Linked DNA regions of Homo sapiens: region 1 is linked to region 2. The links are contacts of gene promoters, found by promoter capture Hi-C in human tissues and cell types (Jung and others, 2019). All regions are on one chromosome and are shown on one strand. Each heading gives the region's core, a stretch centred on a gene start or on the middle of the fragment in contact. The rest is flanking DNA. Distances are from core to core; before and after follow the strand shown.

Region 1 (5,220 bases), core at 2,469-4,968, 68 kb before region 2:
AAACACAAATACTTTCTCAGCTTTACACTTAAAATCCTTTTTCCAAGCTATTCATGCAAACATATAATACTGCTTTCAATTTCTTGTTTTACGTTTACTCTGAGTTTTGTTGTTTTCCAAAATCACTTTGCTGCATTAAATATGCATCTGTTATATTGTGCTGTGAGGCTGGGTAAATCACGCACAGGTACCACCTGTTTTATCTGCAACAGTGGAAGCCACAGAAAGGGAAGACCACAGGCTTCAGATTTGTCATCAGGCTAAATTAAGCTGACAGCACAGGAGAAGGGTTATGCAGCCTGCCAGTAAGACAACACGCAGTGAACAAAAAGACATTCCCTTTTAAGCGTGTGTAGGTATATGTTTATTACACCACATGTATGTGGCAAAGAAAATGATCTACAAATGCTCCTTGCATGTAAGATTCCTTTCTGGAAAGTTCTCAACAAGGAGCTTCAGGATTTATAAACAATTTTAAGCTTTCTCTCCTTCTTAAACTGAACATATCTCCACTTTTGATAAGCAGAGCCATATTTGTTTTCTTTGAGAAGGGCAGTTATCTCAAACTAGTTCTTAAATCCCTTAAGGGAAACTACGTTAACTAAATAAGAAATCTTCCAAAACTAAATCCAAATGCAAAATCATGCTTTAAAGAGGGATGTGGGCGGCGTCTGTAATGCCAGCTCTTTGGGAGGCTGAGGCGGAAGGATCACCTGAGCCCAGGAGTTCAAGACCAGCCTGGGCAAAAATAACAAGATCCCATCTCTATATAAAGATTAAAAAATACAAATTAGCCGAGCGTGGCAGCGCATGCCTGTGGTCCCAGCTACTCAAGAGGCTGAGGCGGGAAGATCCCTGACGCCGGGGAGGTCGAGGCTGCAGTGAGCCATGATCATGCCACTGCACTCCATCCTAGGTGACTGACTCACATCCTGTCTCAAAATAAAAATAAAAAAGAGTGATATGGGGGCAACTCCCACCACTGACTTGGGTCTCAGGGACAGAAGGGTGCCAGAAATAATCAACATTTTTTTAAACCCAAGGAGGTTCCCTTTGTAAGAACATGTCGATCCAGTCTTGGAATCTAGCAGGAAAATTCCTTTCCATGCCACTCTCTGAAAGACAGCTCACTAGGACACAAATGGAAAATACTCTTTTACTTCTGCAGAGATAAGCTTCTTCTCACCTTCAAGGCCCAATGTACTTTGCAGCTACTTATTTGCAATGATATCCACCTCGGCTGGATACGTTTGCCTCACACATCAGGCGCACCATGGTTTTAAATACGCAGAGGGCCATTTTTCTCCTGACACTTCAATGCCATCATTTACTTAGCTAATAAGTGCCACGGTAGGTCCTCAGTTAACATCATCTATAGCTTCTTGGAAACTGTAACTTGATGCGAAATGACAAACAGAAATCCTTGATAAAGTCTTTTTGTTTTAAAGCTGATGTGGAAAGGAAACATGAGTTTCATTTTACGTCCTTTCACTTAAAGTTGCAGTTTCCAAAACCCTACAGACAGCACTGTGGACCCGCAGTGCATGGAGCTCCAATTCCTGACGGGCCCAAGTCCTCACAAAAAGGTGCTTTGCAAGGAAAATTATGAAAAAGAAAACGTCAGTGGGGTGGAGTTAAAAGGTTCCTATTTTCAAATACTCTTGCGCTTCTCTCCCAAGCAAGCATCCTGCACAAGGCTCGCTCTCCCTCCCAACACAGATGTTTCGGGGGGCATTTTCTAGACAGGTACGAAGGGAATCCCGTCCCTGAGAGGACCAAGGGCACAGGAGTAGTGCTCGGGACCCTCAGGACGGGGCATGCACTGTGGGCAACGCCAGGCCTCACCGTCGTGCGTGTGCATGCCTCACCGTCGTGCGTGTGCGTGCCTCACCGTCGTGTGTGCGTGCCTCACCGTCGTGTGTGCGTGCCTCACCGTCGTGCGTGTGCATGCCTGTAGGCAATGCCAGGCCTCACCGTCGTGCGTGTGTGTGCCTCGTGTGCGTGCCTCACCGTCGTGCGTGTGCGTGCCTCACCGTCGTGCGTGTGCGTGCCTCACCGTTGTGTGTGTGCATGCCTGTAGGCAATGCCAGGCCTCACCGTCGTGTGTGTGCGTGCCTGTGTGTAAAGGTTAGAGTGTGTGACAGTGAGTGTGGAAGCAGCTGGGTGAACATGAGAGAGACTGAGTGTCATGTGTGAGCATGTGCTAGTGTGCCCGAGGGTGTGTGTGTGTGTCTGAGAGAGCACATGTGTGTGATCTCTTAACCTACATAAAAGCACTCATTCAAATACCCTACCTGGAGGCAAACACGCATGTCCACTTCCAACAATCTACCAGCAACACTCGTGCCCATGTGCCTGGATTACCAGCTTCGCACAGAGCCAGACGCTGCAGCAGTAACGGGGCGCCGGGCCCACCTGCTGCCCCTCTCCTGTGCATAGGGCGCTCTCTCCCTGCCCCGAGCTTCGGCTTCTCCTCCATGCACGGTCACTGCTGGAGGCACACTGGACCCAGTGCCAGCTCGGGAAATCCTGGGCCGGTGACAGCCCTGACCCGTGGCCACCATCCACTCAACATCATTGAGCCCTCCCACAGGCACCCAAGCTCTCTGAGGACAGCCGTCCTAGCTTCCTTCGTGGGAGAAAACTCTGGCCCTCCACTGCCGGCCAGGGAGGCCTCGCGTGCCAAGCTGGCCCTGAGCTCAGCCCAGGATTTGTGCCATTCAGGACGTGGCGGCCGTGTGCACCCCATCGGGCACCGCGTCGCCTCCCTCGGAATGTATTCCAGCACTGTCTGCCATGATGCCAACAGCAACACTTCTCAACACCAAGCCTTTAAATGTCCAGCAGCTCCACAGCCCGAGTCAGAGTGGCCCAGCCTCCCCTGGACCTGATGCGGGGCTTCAGGAAGTGGCAGGGCAGGAGGTAGAACCGGAAGCCTCACGCTACACCAGGCACTGCTCCTGGAGCACAGTGGGTATCCCATCACAACGCGGGAGGATTCAGGGCCAACTGCAGGCCCCCGGAGACGAGGTTAGACGGTGGCAGGCAGGCTAAGAACAGGCGATCCGGCAGGCACAAGAAGGAACATACTGATGATAAGGAAACGCCGGGTGGGGTCTTTACGTAGGCAGCCTCCTTGGCATCGGGCAGGTCTGTCTCACCAGTCCCAAATAATGAATCATGTCCACTGCACTAGAATGCAGTCTTTTAACCACTATCAACATACGCCAAGGAATGCTTCCACTAACAAATGGGAAGAATGCCCAGAAAACACCGCACTGCATTTCTGGACCAGGACTCGTTCTGTTGGAATGTGCCTACCAAACACAGCAAGGGGCGACACTCACCCGAAGGTTGAAACATGCGGAACTCCGATGACTCCTAGTGCTGTTAGCAATCATAAATCCTCATCCTGGCACAGAGCACAGGAGGCACCTCTGCCTGCACTCACCGTCCAGGGCCCTCCTCCGTCTCTGCGATGCCACCCTCATTTCACAGACGAGGACGCTGAGGGTCAAAGCTGTGAGCCACATCCCTCGACAAGGCTGTGAGCCCATTCCCTGTCTTCCTGCCTCCCTGTTACCACCTTCCAGGCCCCCGCTCTCTGGTGCCTGGAATGAGCATTCTGGAGTTGTCAGAACATTCCTTGACCTTCCAATAAAAGGGGTACAATCTAAATACAAAGTAACATCCGGGGCTACAAAAGCGACCACTGTGGCCATCACCTATGAACCTCTAAGACCCCAAATCAACACAAAGCAAGAGGCCACACCATCCTGAGCAGCTGGCAAGTCGGCCACTGACCAGTAAAAAAACTGGGAGGAAGGTGGCTGATCGATCCTGTTTTCCTCCCTTTTTCAACGAGCCCAGTTGCTCATGAAAGACAAGTAGACAGCTCTACTCTGCTTCTGTTCAGGGCTAGAGAGGTTCTGGAATTGTGCAAGTCATGTCAGAGCACACCCCGAGAGAGAGATCACTTGCAAAAAGCTACAGTGAAAATAAGAATCAAAACTCCCAAACCGGAGAAGCCATGCCACATGATCGCCTCGCTTGTTCATGGCGGGTAATTACTTAACCCTTTGTTTTTCCAGAAGTAATAGAAGGGCCTTTTTAAACAACATACTGCCCGCCACGGTGGCTCACGCCTGTAATCCCAGGACTTTAGGAACCCGAGGCAAGTGGATCAATTGAGGTCAGGGAGACCAGCCTGGCCAACACGGTGAAACCTCATCTCTACTAAAACTACAAAAAAAAATTAGCCGGGCGTGGTGGCGCATGCCTGTAATCCCAGCTACTTGGGAGGCTGAGGCAGGACAATCGCTTGAACCCGGGAGCCGGAGGTTGCAGTGAGCTGAGATCATGCCACTGCACTCCAACCTGGGCGACAGAGCCTGACTCCATCTCAAAAAATAAATAAATAAATAAAAATAACAACATACTGAACGGGGCTGACTTATCTGCCTAAACCAAGCTCCTCCTGGACACTCCGTCATCACTGCACACTGACCATGTAATGGTGAGGCCAGTGTCTCGTCTAACAGAACACCGATCACCATGGCCGCAACAGGCACTGTGAAAAACATGTTGGCTTCCTCCGAGCCCTGTGGCACATGCCACTTCCCCACCCTCTGCTGCCTCCCTGACCAAGAGGGCCCAGGGGACCAGCGTCTCCACACACCTGGGACCAACCTGTTGGGCTACACCACTTGAGAAGCCCTGGATCACCCTATTTAATGTGGCCTTTAGAGGAAATTTGGGGGTGGAAGGAGTCATTTGTCACCTATAACTTCTGCAATTGTCAGAAATTCATTTATAGGACACAAACGTTTTGCAATCTTGCCATCCAAACGTAAAATCAGAAAACATACATCGGGTGCTTAAAATGGGCGCCTGGCACACAGTGGGCGCTTGACAAATTCAAGATCCCTTCCTCTTCAGGTCTCCATCCAAGATTCAGCAGTACCGAAAATATGCAGGGACCGCACGGGAACCAGCTTGAGGCTTGTCGCCAACAGGCGAGGGGCCCAGGTCTCATCAGATGGTCAACAGGTATCCCCCGAGTGCCCGCCATGGGCCGGACCAGCTAGCAGGCGAGAAACCCTGGGCAGCCTCACCTGGATGGGAAGGGTGCGGCGTCCAGCCCTGCAGGCGTGTGGTATGTGGGGAAACCGCTCCGCCCTCCTCCTGTGACTCTGTGGGGATGATCTTGCCCAAGCCCGG
Region 2 (5,408 bases), core at 678-3,177:
ATTTTTTTAACTGAAGTAAAACTCACATAGCCTAAAATCAAAAGTGTACAACTCAGTGGCATTTAGTGTAGTCACGGTGTTATGCCACCATCACCTCCAGTTTCAAAACACTGTCCTCATGCAGAAAGGAAAGCCCCCTTGGACCCATTAGCAATCATTCCCCATCCCCGACTCCTTCAGACCCTGGCGACCTCGGATCTGCTTTCTGTCTCTATGGATTTGCCTCTTCTGGACATTTCATACAACTGGGCTCATAACAATCTGTGGTATTTTGTGCCTGACGTCCTCCACTCAGCATAAGGCTTTTAAGGTTCATCCACGTTGTGGCATGTGCCAGTGTTTCACTCCTTCTCATGAGTGAATAATATTCCATCGTGGGGATACAGCACACTTTACTTATCCATTCCCCCTCTTGGAGGGGTGCTTGAGTTGTTTCCATTTTGTGGCTACTGCGAATGCTGCTGCTATTAAACCTGATTTTGACCCTGTGGTGGCATAAGGAGCTCATCAGGGTGAACTGGAAGGGGTGTGCCCCACTGCTGGTGTCTGGTCAAGCAAACCCTCACCCCTTGAGAGAGGAGTCAGTGGGAGACACCACTCAAGTCTCCATAATGAGGGACAATTTCAGGCTGGGACAACATGGTGGAGGAAGGACCTCTTCAGAGAGGAAGTGCACGTAAGGGGCAAGGACCCTAGAAAGACCTGTGGGACCTGTGGAGAGTATGCACGTCCTTCAGATTGAGGCTGGTTTGAGGCCGGGTGCCATGGCTCACGCCTGTAATCCCAGCACTTTGGGAGACCAAGGCAGGCGGATCACCTGAGGTCAGGAGTTCGAGACCAGCCTGGCTGACAAGGTGAAACCCCGTCTCTACTAAAAATACAAAAATTAGCCGGGCGCGGGGGCACACACCAAAAAAAAAAAAAAACAAACCTGGGCTGAGTGCAGAAATCAGTCCAATCCAGGGAGAAATCTGGCAAATACTCTTGGCCAGCTCCTGTTTTTCTGAAAACATAGGTGCCAGAAGAGCATCCGGTAGCAGCTGCCAAGTTCAATACTAGGACTCCACTCCACAGACAATTCTGTCACCCCATTGTGGGTGTCCTGGATGCCCAGAAAACCCACATCTCTTGATAAAGTCCTCCTGTGGTAAGTCTGCAACCCCTCTGCACCCAGCCCCTCTGCTGACACCCCCTCTGCACCCTGCATCTTTGCCAAGTGGGGAGAGATGCATTCCAGAACTCCAGTGGCAGGATCTGCCCTTGCCGGGATCATGCAGACTTGGCATTTTCCAGTACCTACTGTTGCTTGAGGTTTCTTATAATAGAGCAGGATGAGCAACACGACTTCTCGTTTTGTAATTTGGCACATATGTATATGTTTTATACATACATGCTATGTGTCTATATGTACACACGGCAATACATACGTGTATATGTATACGTATATATGTATGTCAACGAATACCTAAATATATAATCATATGAAACAAACTGTTTATCCCTGTTCCATAAACTTCATATCAATTCAATAAATAAAATTTATTCAAAATCCAATCATCCCAACACATTAACATTTAATTTTTCCCTATTTTCTGTCTGTGTTTGTCATTGAATATTAAAAGTTTTGCTTTTTTTTACTATTTCACCTCTTTTCTAGGTAGTCCATAATTTTAAAACAATATATATGGCACCACTTGGTCTTCACAGCTTTCAAGACAGGACTGTCAAGGCAAGGACACTCCTTAGGGGACCCTGTCCCATAAAGTCAAATTATGCGGGATGAGTCAGTGACGCAGGAGCTAAAAACAGTGTCCCTTTAAAAATGTGCATGCCTTTGAAATGGAATAAGTAAAGTACTTGCAGATGCAAATGGTTTCAAGTTTCACTGGAGACCCAGCGAAAGCGGCTGTTCTCAAAGTTGCCAGGCAGTGTGGAAACGCCCACTGAGGGGCACACAGTGAGGCGGCCACTGGCTCTGTGTCCTTGGGGAAGCCCCTTCTGCGGTCCCCTCCATTGTCTGCGTGACAAAGTGGACGTAGAACTCCCCCATTTCCTGCCCAGGGCGGGTGAGGACCCTGCACACACACGGTGTGTTTGTGAGCTGTGCAGAGTGGGGTCTCCCTGGCAATGGCCACAGCCTCCAGGGGCGCTGACACCTCCCGTCTAACTGGTAGACAGTTTCTGCCTCTTCTTGTTTGGGGATTGGAGAGGGAAGTGCGTCTGGATGACTACTAAGGTAAATATGGAATGGGCACCGCGTCTTCCCTTTCTTCTCTCCCTTCCCACGCACCTGCCTGGCTCCCCGGCTCTCCCGCCCTGGCCAGAGTCAATGTGAGCTGCAAAGTCCATATGTGAACAGCTGTGGGCAAGTCGTGCAACAGTGCTCATGGGACTTACTACGCATCTAAGCCGCTGAACTTCAGCTGGACCCCAAATGGCCTTGGTCACGTTTTGTTTCTGTTTTGTCATTTCCGGCTGCATCTCCCACAGTCTCAGCCCTGCGCTCCTTGCTCTGCCTTCTCCTCCCCACAGCTTCTTTGCAGATAACATCCTGGCCGTATTATGCAACTGAACCCATATTATCCGGGGGAAACTTACCCTCCTCTGCTCTCTAAATCTTCCTTTTCCTTCTGGTTTTGGAGAAAGAGGAGCTCCTTTCCATCAATCAGGTCAACCTCTTCCTGTTTCCTTTCTTCATTCTTCGTTATTTTCCACTCCTGAGTTTTGGACTCTTCTCTCGGTCAATAAGTATATCCGAATTCTTCCAGCTGTAAAACCAACAAATGAAAGGCCTCGTGTACCAAGGCTGCCCCCGCGTGCGGCCCCCCGGGCTGTGTGGCCTTGGCCTGGAACACAGCCCCGCTGCCACCTTCCTGCACTCCGTGGGGGAGATGGGCGGTGCACACTACCCAGAAGTGGAATGTGCATTTCACAGAAAATGACCAATTTAAGCAGAAAATTAAAGCAGAAAACGGGGTGAGAACGGCAGACGCGTGTGTGGGCACCGCAGCGTACACGCTTAGGATCCCGAGTTTATTTTTCTAGGGCCCGTGTGTTGGTGCGCATGCGCGTGCGCCCCCACCACCTGAAATCTTGGTAGTGCCTGTTAACCCGGCAGTAGACCCATGGGTGAATTTACTCTCTTCTCTGTGTCTTTCTGTATTTTCCATGCTTTCTGTGACGAACAACATCATACATACCGCTACTTCTTTTTTTGGGGGGACGGAGTCTCGCTCTGTCGCCCAGGCTGGAGTGCAGTGGCGCGATCTCGGCTCACTGCAAGCTCCGCCTCCCGGGTTCACGCCATTCTCCTGCCTCAACCTCCCAAGTAGCTGGGACTACAGGCGTCCGCCACTACGCCTGGGTAATTTTTTGTATTTTTAGTAGAGACGGGGTTTCACCGCGTTACCCAGGATAGTCTCGATCTCCTGACCTCGTGATCCGCCCACCTCGGCCTCCCAAAGTGTTGGGATTACAGGCGTGAGCCACCGCGCCCGGCCACATATCACTTCTTCTATTGTGCATTCACTGCACACCAAGCACTTCTATTGGGCGTTCACTACACACCAAGCCTAAGTAAGGGCTTTCTGTGCACGCTCTCATTTCATGCTTATGACACTCTGAGAATTAAGACCATTTTGGCCCCTGTCTTACAGATGAGGAGGCTGAGGCCTAGTGCTCCTAGCGGGCTTGGTCAAGAGCAGGAGGCGGAGGTGGTGGAAGGCTGTTTCCCTGCGGTGAGTGCTCACACGGTTGGCGGTGATTTCTCCGCAGGGTCTCACAGGCCGGTGCTCTCAGGAGCCACACCTGAAGAATGGCAGGACCCAGGGTGGGCAGAAGAGGAAGGTGAACTGAGGAACAGTTGCAACAGAGGCCTCGGCCAACCCCATGGAGGGCTCTGAATTTGAGAGCCCTGAGAGTCACTCCCCCTGAGGCAGGAGGCCAGGCGTTGCACCCATGCGCTGGCCACTCGCTGGGGACAGGCTGTGTCCAGGGAGGGTACCTGTGTTTGGGTGAGGTGCCCTTCAAGAAGGGCAGTTCCTGGAGAGTCCCCAGATAGAGGTTGTCAATAGTTGACACTTTCTGCAGCTGGCGGGACAGCGCTTGGTTGAGGGGGACTCTGGGTGGCCCACTACAGTGTCTACCACAAATGCCTACCTGCTCTCCAGGATACATTCAAATCTCGCCACCCCCAGGAGGCCTTCTTAGATTCCCATGGATCAGAATGGGCCTGGGATGCTCTCTTCCCATGTCCCTCAGGCTTGCTTGAGCTGTCTCAGGCATGACAGCTGTTGTGGGTTTGAAAGGCTCTGCCACTAGACTGTGATTCCCTGGGGAAGCAATAATCCCCTTTGGGGACATCACTGACTTCAAAACGGTTAAGGGTAAAAGGCAAAAGACCTGCCCGTTTGGGGACATCACTGACTTCAAAACAGTTAAGGGTAGGCCAGGCGCGGTGGCTCAAGCCTGTAATCCCAGCACTTTGGGAAGCCGAGGCGGGCGGATCACGAGGTCAGGAGATCGAGACTATCCTGGCTAACATGGTGAAACCCCGTCTCTACTAAAAATACAAAAAATTAGCCGGGCGTGGTGGCGGGCGCCTGTAGTCCCAGCTACTCGGGAGGCTGAGGCAGGAGAATGGCATGAACCTGGGAAGCGGAGCTTGCAGTGAGCCGAGATTGCGCCACTGCACTCCAGCCTGGGCGACAGAGCGAGACTCCATCTCAAAAAAAAAAAGGGGGGGTAATAGGCAAAAGACCTGCTTCTGTGGCCAGGCAGCGTGCCTTGGGTGTCACTTGTACCTGGCTTGGGAGTTGTCTAGGGATGACTTTGGGCTGCAGTTGGTGTTCCTGGAAGGCCACAAGACATGGCTGCTCTTCCAGATTTGGTGTGGGTGAGTCCGCTGGGAGTGCTGGCTCTTTCACACTGCTTGGAGGGTTCTGCCCGCCAGTGTAACTCACCCAAACTCACTAAAGCAGCAAATGGCAGCTCCAAGACTTAGCCTCAAGGAGGTGGACATCAGAAGGCATTTGATGAGGAAAGGACTCAGGTGCGGCCGCACCTGGCTGTCTGTGGGTGAGGGCCTGGGCATTTGGGTCCTAAGCAGATGGGTCCTGGGTAGGTGGAGTAGGTCTTGGGCAACTGGGTCTTGGGCAGGTGGAGTGGGTCTTAGGCAGGTACATCCTGGGTAGGTGGGTTCTTCTGGGCAGGAGGGGTGGATTCTGGGCAGGTGGATTCTGGCCAGGCAGATTCTGAGAAGATGGGTTCAGGGAAGCTAGATTCTGGACAGGTGGGTCCTGGGCAGCTGGGTCATGGGCAGGTGGATTCTGGGCAGGTAAGTTTTGGACAGATGGGGTCCTGGGCAGGTGGGTCCTGGGTGGGTGGGTCCTGGGTGGGTGGGTACTGGG

The links. The method cuts DNA at HindIII sites, captures the fragments that hold promoters and counts their contacts. A contact is called where the count stands out against the background at its distance.
Region 1: a contact is called between a fragment that was not itself captured here and the fragment with the promoter of LINC00908 in region 2, in 5 of the 25 tissues and cell types used here (dorsolateral prefrontal cortex, mesenchymal stem cells, mesendoderm cells and 2 more).

The regions. Positions count from the first base shown.
Region 1 is chr18:76,456,778-76,461,997 of GRCh38, forward strand. All of the region lies in intron 2 of ZNF516 (zinc finger protein 516), which reads right to left. Among named protein-coding and RNA genes, the nearest start is that of ZNF516-AS1, 32 kb to the right of the region's middle. RefSeq lists enhancers at 314-815, 816-1,315, 2,728-3,325, 3,326-3,923. The HindIII fragment of the contact is 5,783 bases long and covers 828-5,220 here.
Region 2 is chr18:76,526,728-76,532,135 of GRCh38, forward strand. It overlaps LINC00908 (long intergenic non-protein coding RNA 908), which reads left to right and starts at 1,928. Exons shown (of 3, transcript NR_015417.1): 1 at 1,928-2,236; 2 at 3,657-3,737. RefSeq lists enhancers at 1,670-2,310, 2,311-2,949, 2,447-2,526, 2,950-3,589. The HindIII fragment of the contact is 15,253 bases long and covers 1-5,408 here.